Linked DNA regions of Homo sapiens: region 2 is linked to region 1. Evidence: promoter capture Hi-C in human tissues and cell types (Jung and others, 2019). All regions are on one chromosome and are shown on one strand. Each heading gives the region's core, a stretch centred on a gene start or on the middle of the fragment in contact. The rest is flanking DNA. Distances are from core to core; before and after follow the strand shown.

Evidence for each region. The method cuts DNA at HindIII sites, captures the fragments that hold promoters and counts their contacts. A contact is called where the count stands out against the background at its distance.
Region 2: a contact is called between a fragment that was not itself captured here and the fragment with the promoter of SLC25A15 in region 1, in 2 of the 25 tissues and cell types used here (H1 embryonic stem cells and dorsolateral prefrontal cortex).

Annotation. Positions count from the first base shown.
Region 1 is chr13:40,786,719-40,792,048 of GRCh38, reverse strand. It overlaps SLC25A15 (solute carrier family 25 member 15), which reads right to left and starts at 2,438. Exons shown (of 7, transcript NM_014252.4): 1 at 2,386-2,438. RefSeq lists silencers at 862-1,156, 2,289-2,868. The HindIII fragment of the contact is 20,114 bases long and covers 1-5,330 here.
Region 2 is chr13:40,888,072-40,893,401 of GRCh38, reverse strand. It overlaps the pseudogene TPTE2P5. Among named protein-coding and RNA genes, the nearest start is that of MIR621, 80 kb to the right of the region's middle. The HindIII fragment of the contact is 5,874 bases long and covers 1-5,330 here.

The DNA.
Region 1 (5,330 bases), core at 1,189-3,688:
TGTTAGTAACTTATTTGCAAATAATAAGGAACAACTTATTCCTCATCACACTGAGGAGCCGTGTGACCCATCGTGCTGGATCAGAGATGAACACCAAGCACGCTCCTAACACCAATGTCACCCTGAACGTCAACAGGAAACATTGGCCGTGGAGAAGTTGTTTAAACCTCTTGAAGCATCTTGCCAACGACGAGACTTCAATAATCCTCCTTTATTCACAAAAAATTTAAAACCAGTGGCAACAACGGCACATTACTTAATAAAGCAACTAAGTTAGAAGTGCAAGACACTGATTTATATGCTGTTGATAGGTCTGGAGAGACAGGACCATTCACTAGGCTGAAAAGGTGGTGGCCATCTGGTATCTTCCTAAAAAAGTTTATCAGGGTCCTGGCCAGGCGCGGTGGCTCACGCCTGTAATCCCAGCACTTTGGGCCGGCTGAGGTGGGAGGATCACGAGGTCAGGAGTTTGAGACCAGCTTGACGAATATGGTGTAACCCTGTCTCTACTTAAAATACAAAAATGACCCCAGCGTGGTGATGCACACCTGTAGTCCCAGCTACTCAGGAGGCTGAGGCAGAAGATTCACTTGAACCCGGGAGGTGGAGGTTGCAGTGAGCCGAGATTGTGCCACTGGACTCCAGCCTGGGCAACAAAGTGAGACTCTGTCTCAAAAAAAAAAATAATAATAATAATAGAAAATAAAAAATAAAATAAATAAATAAATAAATAAATAAATAAATAAAAAGTTTATCAGGGTCCTAATCCTTTCCCAGAAGGCAAACTAAAGCCTGGAGCAAGACAAGGTCTTCTCCAAGGCCACACAACTGTCAGTGACAGAGGATTCAGTTCAAAGTCCTGTCTTTTCAGGCCTGTGCCTACAAACCAACCGTTAATCTGAGTATTTCAACCTGGCCAAAGGCAACACAAAACACCCAACCCTATATTTTTGGGAAAGAAAAAAACGGGGGCAACTGAGCAGACAGACAGAGGCAAGTACAATGTGGCCTCCTAGATAAACCTCAATGCGCTTATTTCTTTTGGCACAGACACTTCCTTCTTAATTTTGAAGGAAAGTCACATCACATTACATTCTATCTGTCCCTAAGAATTAAACCCTGTTAGGTGAGCCAAACTTAAACACATTAAATTCTACAAATAGGCCAGGCACAGTGGCTCACGCCTGTAATCCCAGCACTTTGGGAGGCCAAGGCGGGCGGATCACCTGAGGTCGGGAGTTCGAGACCAGCCTGACCAACATGAGAAACCCCCGTCTCTATTAAAAATACAAAATTAGCCTGGCGTGGTGGGCCATGCTTGTAATCCCAGCTACTCGGGAGGCTGAGGGAGGAGAATAGCTTGAACCCAGGAGGCGGAGGTTGCGGTGAGCCGAGATCGCCCCATTGCACTCCAGCCTGGGCAACAAGAGCGAAACTCCGTCTCAAAAAAATAAACAAACAAATAAATTCTACAAATAGCCATTAGAATTATTAGGATAGAAAACGATGATGGGTACTAACAGATTCACTCAGAAGGAGTGGGCAGCTAATTCACATTATGTGTAGCTCTGGCTTGGAGAAGACACAGGGCTTGGAGGAGGCAAGACTGTTCAGCATGAATTAAAATTGATTTATGAGCTTGCTGTAGCACTTGGAATAGAAAAAAGAATCTTTTCAGCGCCTTTGACCCCTCTCTCAAATTACACCAGGGTGCAACTGAGGAACAACAGTGCCGACCACCCACTTTTCTCGACCCTTGGGGAAAATAACTTTTTTTTGGAAGGGAGAGTCAGTAGATGAGGCTGCATTTTCCACCAGGGAACACGAACTGCTGCGGGAAGATCCCAGCTTCTGGCTAAAGGAGCCGCAGGCCAGCTCGCCATCCAGTCCCCAGAGCCCGGGCTTTAGGTAAAGCGTGGAGATGCAAATCAGTTTCGCCGCCAAGGACCGGCCAGGCGCGTCTCCTCCCGGGCCTCGCAAGGAACAGGTCAGGGAGACGACTTCCAACTTTCTTGGCCGGACCCTAAACGTTCACCGCCCCTGCCCAGCCGCCCACTCCTGGGCAGCCAGCAAGTCTCCATTCACAAGCGGCTCCATGCTGCCCAGCACTGGCGCCCCTGAGGCGCGGAGCCCCGCAGCCAAATGACAGGACTTGGGGGCAAACAAGGACAAAAGTTCCCACCAGGTGGGCACTGCAGGAAGGAGGCCGACAACCCCGAGATTCTCCGAGTCCCGCGGCACGTGCGCTGCGACGCTGGCCGCTTCCCCCGCCGCTCGGGAAGGTCACGCCGCCCGCACACCGAGGCCCGCCCCGCGCCCCGCTCCCCGCTCCCTCTGCCTGGCGCGCTCCCCGCAGCTGCAGGCGCCAGACCGGGCTGCGCTCACCGCCGCGCCGGCGTGGCCGCGTCCAGCTCAGGCTCCGCCGCCCGCTCTCGGCTCCGGGTCGCCGGCTGGGGCGGCCACTTAACACCCACGTCGGCAACGGCCGGCCCTTCGCCCCTCCCTTCGCGCAGGCATCCCGGACTGCGGCCCCGCGAAGCTCAGGAGCGCCCCTGCGGCTGGCGGGCGGCCTGCCCAGGGCCGTGCCCGAGCCGAGACCGGGAGCCGCCACCGCCCACCGGCCCTGCCACCGCCCCCAGCACGGGAAGCGGAAGTGGGCGTGGGGCCGCGGCGCGCACAGCCAGCCCGCGACCCGGCGTGGTGCTGCCGCCGACCCTGGTGAAGGTGGAGAGCGGGGCCTGCGCCTCCGGAGACTTTCCCACCTCTGGGATCCCCGAGACCCTCTCTGAGGCCGGACCCTTGTTAGCCCGCTGGGCTGGGACTGGGGGCTGGGGGCTGGTAATGTCAGTGGTTGGGAGGACTTACTTTTTAGCTACTTTGACCTTGTTGGGAGGCTAAGGCCTTATTTATAAATTATATTTGAGTACAAAATTATACTCGGGATCCAAGGCCCTAATAGGAAATACAACTAAGTATGAAAATACAGGAATTAGCCGGGCATGGTGGCTCACGCCTGTAATCCCAGCACTGTGGGAGGCCGAGGTAGGCGGATCACCTGAGGTCAGGAGTCCAAGACCAGCCTGGCCAACATGGTGAAACCCCGTGTACTAAAATTACAAAAATTTATCCAGCGTGGTGGTGCGTGTCTGTAACCCCAGCTACTAGGGAGGCTGAGGCAGGAGAATCGCTTGAATCTGGGAGGTGAAGGTTGCAGTGAGCCAAGATTGCATCACTACACTCCAGCCTGGGCTACACAGCGAGACTCCGTTTCATAAAAACAAACAAACAACGACAAAAAAAAAAAGGTGTGGTGACACATGCCTCTATTCTTAGCTATTTGGGAGGCCAAGGCGGGAGGATCGCTTGAGGCCAGGAATTGGAGGCCGCAGTGAGCTATGATGGCACTGTTGCACTCCAGCCTGGATGACAGAGACCTCATCTCTCTCTCTCTCTCTCTCTCACCCACACACACACACACACACACACACACACACCCTCCACACAGTGTAATTTTATTTTACAACTTTAAGCCTTGTTTAGATGTGCTGTTGGATTATTATTTTTTTCTTTTTTTTTCTTTTTTTTTTTGAGACAGAGTCTCACTCTGTCACCCGAGCTGGAGTGCAATGGTGCAATCTCAGCTCACTGCAACCTCCCCCTCCTGGGTTCAAGCGATTCTCCTGCCTTAGCTTCCCAAGTAGCTGGGATTACAGGCATGCGCCACCACACCCAGCTAATTTTGTATTTTTTAGTAGAGACAGGGTTTCACCACCTTGGCCGGGCTGGTCTCGAACTCCTGACCTCAGGTGATCTGCCTGCCTCGGCCTCTCAAAGTGCTGGGATTACACGTGTGAGCCACCACGTCTGGATGTGCTATTGGATAATTACCTACGTTATTTAAGTGATTTAATTGGTGTTAGTGCTTAACATGAATGCACACTTGAGTAGACCTCCCAGGCTGTAGTAGATGCTATGATGGGATCAGAGTGCCTGGTACATGGACACTCATCAGAATCAGCACTTTAGAACTTGGGCTTCTGGACTGTAATCGAGTTACAAAAACAAGCCAGGGAGTTGGGATGACTTGTCCAAAGTGATGGGGAACATAACTAACTGAAAGCAGATCCAGCAGCTGAAACTACAGTTACAGCAGCTTAAAGGGGTTGGCAATGTCACCTGGTCCAATAGCTTTTGCAGCTTCAGAAAATGAGACCCAAAGGAACCCTGATTAAGGACAGACTTGGCTGGGTGTGGTGGCTCATGCCTGTAATCCCAACATGTTGGGAGGCTGAGGCAGGAGGATTGCTTGAGCCCAGGAGTTCGAGTTGAACCTGGGCAACACAGTGATGTAACTGCCCAATGGGTTCTTCTCGCCCGCTGCCTCAACTGAGCCAATTTATCAAGATGGGGGAATTGCAATAGAGAAACAGTTTAATTCACGCAGAACCAGCTGTGCAGGAGACCAGAGTTTTATTATTACTCAAATCAATCTCCCCAAGAATTCGGGGTTTGGAGTTTTTAGGGATAATTTGGTGGGTAGGGGGCCAGTGAGTGGGAGTACTGATTGGTCATGTTGGAGATGAAATCATAGGGAGTCTAAACTGTCCTCTTACGCTGAGTCGGTTCCTGGGTGGGGGCCACAAAACCAGATGAGGCAGTTTATCAATCTGGGTAGTGCCAGCTGATCAATCCATCAAGTACAGGCTCTGCAAAAATATCTCAATCTTATCTGTGATCTTAGGTTTTACAATAGTGATGTCATCCTGAGGAGCTATTTGGGGAGGTTTAGAATCTTGCAGTCTCCAGCTGCATGACTCCTAAACCATAATTTGTAAACTTGTGGCTAATTTGTTAGTCCTACAAGGCGGCCTAGTCCCCAGGCAGGAAGGGGGTTTGTTTTGGGAAAGGGCTGTTGTCGTCTTTGTTTCAACGCTAAACTATAATCTAAGCTCCTCCCAGAGTTAGTTGGGCCTACACCCAGAACAAGGACAGTTTGGAGGTTAGAAGCAAGATAGAGTCAGTTAGGTCAGATCTCTTTGACCATCATAATTTTCTTGGTTATAATTTTTGCAATGACAGTATCAGTGAGCCCCTGTCTTTACTAAAAATCAAAACAAAAAAAAATTTTTTTAAACCTGGTGTGGTGGCGCATGCCTGTAGTCCCAGCTACTGGGGAAGCTGTGGCAAGAGCTCTTGAGCTGTGTTCATGCCACTGCAGTCCAGCCTGGGCGACTGAGCAAGACCCTGTCAAAAAAAAAAAAAAAGGAAAGACCCTGTTATAGATTAGAAAGAGCACTGGACTTGGGGCCAGGATGTTTGTGTAAATGTCC
Region 2 (5,330 bases), core at 1,184-3,683, 100 kb before region 1:
AGGGAAGCTGAGACCGGAGGATCACTTGAGCCTAGAAGTTCAAGGCTGCAGTGAACTATGATCCTTCCACTGCACTCCAGCCTGGGAGACAGAGCAAGCCCCTTTTCTCTACAAATAAAATAAAAATCCCCCACAGTCTTGAGGACTATACTATCTTATAATAGGTGTTTAGTAATTATTTGTTGAATGAATGAATACAAAAATGTTAGCATTCATTGTATTATGTTTATACAGTGAAATGTTTCTCCACTGTAAAACAGATGAATGCACATATAAACGCAGTAATTATTTTAGAATCGGATTTCTTTTATTATTATACTTTAAGTTCTAGGGTACATGTGCACAATATGCAGGTTTGTTACATATGTATACACGTGCCATGTTGGTGTGCTGCACCCATTAACTCGTCATTTACATTAGGTATATCTCCTAATGGTATCCCTCCCCACTCCCCCCACCCCACGACAGGCCCCGGTGTGTGGTGTTCCCCACCCTGTATCCAAGTGTTCTTATTGTTCAATTCCCACCTATTATTGAGAGCATGCAGTGTTTGGTTTTTTGTCCTTGCGATAGTTTGCTGAGAATGATGGTTTCCAGCTTCATCCATGTCCCTACAAAGGACATGAACTCATCCTTTTTTATGGCTGCATAGTATTCCATGGTGTATATGTGCCACGTTTTCTTAATCCAATCTATCATTGATGGACATTTGGGTTGGTTCCAAGTCTTTGCTATTGTGAATAGTGCTGCAATAAACATACATGTGCATGTGTCTTTATAGCAGCATGATTTATACTCCTTTGGGTATATGCCCACTAATGGGATGGCTGGGTCAAATGGTATTTCTAGTTCTAGATCCTTGAGGAATCGCCACACTGTCTTCCACAATGGCTGAACTAGTTTACAGTCCCACCAACAGTGTAAAAGTGTTCCTATTTCTCCACATCCTCTCCAGCACCTGTTGTTTCCTGACTTTTTAATGATCGCCATTCTAACTGGTATGAGATGGTATCTCATTGTGGTTTTGATTTGCATTTCTCTGATGACCAGTGATGATGAGCATTTTTTCAAGTGTCTGTTGGCTGCATAAATGTCTTCTTTTGAGAAGTGTCTGTTCATATCCTTTGCCCACTTTTTGATGGGGTTGTTTGATTTTTTCTTGTAAATTTGTTTAAGTTCTTAATAAATTCTAGATGTCAGCCCTTTGTGAGATGGATAGATTGCAAAAATTTTCTCCCATTCTGTAGGTTGCCTGTTCACTCTGATGGTAATTTCTTTTGCTGTGCAGAAGCTCTTTAGTTTAATTAGATCCCATTTGTCAATTTTGGCTTTTGTTGCCATTGCTTTTGGTGTTTTAGACATGAAGTCCTTGCCCATGCCTATGTCCTGAATGGTATTGCCTAGGTTTTCTTCTAGGGTTTTTATGGTTTCAGATCTGACATTTAAGTCTTTAATCCATCTTGAATTAAATTTTGTATAAGGTGTAAGGAAGGGATCCAGTTTCAGCTTTCTACATATGGCCAGTTTTCCCAGCACCATTTATTAAATAGGGAATCCTTTCCCCATTTCTTGTTTTTCTCAGGTTTGTCAAAGATCAGATGGTTGTAGATGTGTGGTATTATTTCTGAGGGCTCTGTTCTGTTCCATTGGTCTATATCTCTGTTTTGGTACCAGTACCATACTGTTTTGGTTACCGTACCCTTGTAGTATAGTTTGAAGTCAAGTAGCATGATGCCTCCAGCTTTGTTCTTTTGGCTTAGGATTGACTTGGTGATGTGGGCTCTTTTTTGGTTCCATATGAACTTGAAAGTCGTTTTTTCCAATTCTGTGAAGAAAGTCATTGGTAGCTTGATGGGGATGGCATTGAATCTATAAATTACCTTGGGCAGTATGGCCATTTTCATGATACTGATTCTTCCTACCCATGAGCATGGAATGTTCTTCCATTTGTTTGTGTCCTCTTTTATTTCGTTGAGCAGTGGTTTGTAATTCTCCTTGAACAAGTCCTTCACATCCCTTGTAAGTTGGATTCCTAGGTATTTTATTCTCTTTGAAGCAATTGTGAATGGGAGTTCACTCATGATTTGGCTCTCTGTTTGTCTGTTATTGTTGTATGGGAATGCTTGTGATTTTTGCACATTGATTTTGTATCCTGAGACTTTGCTGAAGTTGCTTATCAGCTTAAGGAGATTTTGGGCTGAGACAATGGGGTTTTCTAAATATACAATCATGTCATCTGCAAACAGGGCCAATTTGACTTCCTCTTTTCCTAATTGAATACCCTTTATTTCTTTCTCCTGCCTGATTGCCCTGGCCAGAACTTCCAACACTATGTGGAATAGGAGTGGTGAGAGAGGGCATCCCTGTCTTGTGCCAGTTTTCAAAGGGAATGCTTCCAGTTTTTGCCCATTCAGTATGATATTGGCTGTGGGTTTGTCATAAATAGCTCTTATTATTTTGAGATACATCCCATCAATACCTAATTTATTGAGAGTTGTTAGCATGAAGTGTTGTTGAATTTTGTCAAAGGCCTTTTCTGCATCTATTGAGATAATCATGTGGTTTTTGTCTTTGGATCTGTTTATATGCTGGATTACATTTATTGATTTGCATATGTTCAACCAGCCTTGCATTCCTGGGATGAAGCCCACTTGATCATGGTGGATAAGCTTTTTGATGTGCTGCTGGATTCGGTTTGTCAGTATTTTATTGAGGATTTTTGTGTTGATGTTCATCAGGGATATTGGTCTAAAATTCTTTTTTTTTGTTGTGTCTCTGCCAGGCTTTGGTATCAGGATGATGCTGGCCTCATAAAATGAGTTAGGGAGGACTCCCTCTTTTTCTATTGATTGGAATAGTTTCAGAAGGAATGGTACCAGCTCCTCTTTGTACCTCTGGTAGAATTCAGCTGTGAATCCGTCTGGTCCTGGACTTTTTTTGGTTGGTAGGGTATTAATTATTGCCTCAATTTTAAAGCCTGTTATTGGTGTATTCAGGGATTCAACTTCTTCCTGGTTTAGTCTTGGGAGGGTGTATGTGTCCAGGAATTTATCAATTTCTTCTAGATTTTCTAGTTCATTTGCATAGAGTTGTGTAGAGTATTCTCTGATGGTAGTTTGTATTTCTGTGGGATCGGTTGTGATATCCCCTTTATCATTTTTTATTGCATCTATTTGATTCTACTCTCTTGTCTTCTTTGTTAATCTTGCTAGCAGTCTATCAATTTTGTTGATCTTTTCAAAAAACCAGCTTCTGGATTCATTGATTTTTTGAAGGGTTTTTTGTGTCTCTGTCTCCTTCACTTCAGTTATTTCTTGGCTTCTGCTAGCTTTTGAAGTGTTTGCTCTTGCTTCTCTAGTTCTTTTAATTGTGATGTTATGGTGTCAATTTTAGATCTTTCCTGCTTGCTCTTGTGGGCATTTAGTACTATAAATTTCTGTCTACACACTGCTTTAAATGTGTCCCAGAGATTCTGGTATGTTGTGTCTTTGTTCTCATTGATTTAAAAGAACGTCTTTATTTCTGCCTTTATTTCGTTATGTACCCAAGTAGTCATTCAGGAGCAGGTTGTTCAGTTTCCATGTAGTTGAGCAGTTTTGAGTGAGTTTCTTAATCCTGAGTTCTGGTTTGATTGCACTGTGGTCTGAGACACAGTTTGTTATAATTTCTGTTCTTTTACATTTGCTGAGGAGTGCTTTACTTCCAACTATGTAGTCAATTTTGGAATAAGTGTGGTGTGGTGCTGAGAAGAATGTATATTCTGTTGATTTGGGGTGGAGAGTTCTGTAGATGTCTATTAGGTCCACTTGGTGCGGAGCTGAGTTCAATTCCTGGATATCCTTGTTAACTTTCTGTCTTGTGGATCTGTCTAATATTGACAGTGGCATGTTAAAGTCTCCCATTATTATTGTGTGGGAGTCTAAGTCTCTTTGTAGGTCTCTAAGGACTTGCTTATGAATCTGGGTGCTCCTGTTTTGGGTTTATATATATTTAGGATAGTTAACTTTTCTTGTTGAATTGATCCCTTTACCATTATGTAATGGCCTTCTTTGTCTCTTCTGATCTTTGTTGGTTTAAAGTCTGTTTTATCAGAGACTAGGATTGCAACCCCTGCTTTTTTTGTTTTCCATTTGCTTGGTAGATCTTCCTCCATCCATTTATTTTGAGCCTATGTGTGTCTCTGCACGTGAGATGGGTTTCCTGAATACAGCACACTGATGGGTCTTGACTCTATCCAATTTGCCAGTTTGTGTCTTTTAATTGGAGCATTTAGTCCATTTACATTTAAGGTTAATATTGTTATGTGTGAATTTGATCCTGTCATTATGATGTTAGCTGGTTATTTTGCTTGTTAGTTGATGCAGTTTCTTCCTAGCCTCTATGGTCTTTACAATTTGGTATGTTTTTGCAGTGGCTGGTACCAGTTGTTCCTTTCCATGTTTAGTGCTTCCTTCAGGAGCTCTTGTAAGGCAGACCTGGTGGTGACAAAATCTCTCAGCATTCACTTGTCTGTAAAGAATTTTATTTCTCCTTCACTTATGAAGCTTAATTTGGCTGGATATGAAATTCTGGGTTGAAAATTCTTTTCTTTAAGAATGTTGAATATTGGCCCCCACTCTCTTCTGGCTTGTAGAGTTTCTGCCGAGAGATCCACTGTTAGTCTGATGGGCTTCCCTTTGTGGGTAGCCCGATCTTTCTCTCTGGCTGCCCTTAACATTTTTTCCTTCATTTCAATGTTGGTGAATCTCACAATTATGAGTCTTGGGGTTGCTCTTCTCGAGGAGTATTTTTGTGGCATTCTCCGTATTTCCTGAATTTAAATGTTGGCCTGCCTTGCTAGGTTGGGGAAGTTCTCCTGGATTATATCCTGAAGAGTGTTTTCCAACTTGGTTGCATTCTCCCCGTCACTTTCAGGTACACCAATCAGACGTAGATTTGGTCTTTTCACGTAGTCCCATATTTCTTGGAGGCTTTGTTCATTTCTTTTTACTCTTTTTTCTCTAAACTTCTCTTCTTACTTCATTTCATTCATTTGATCTCAATCACTGATACCCTTTCTTCCAGTTGATCAATTCGGCTACTGAAGCTTGTGCATGTGTCTTGTAGTTCTTGTTCCAATGTTTTTCAGCTCCATCAGGTCATTTAAGGTATTCTCTATGCTGTTTATTCTAGTTAGCCAGTCGTCAAATCTTTTTTCAAGGTTTTTAGCTTCTTTGCAATTGATTTGAACATCGTCCGTTAGCTCAGAGAAGTTAGTTATTATCAATCTTCTGAAGCCTTCTTCTCTCAACTTATCAAAGTTAATCTCCATCCAGCTTTGTTCCGTTGCT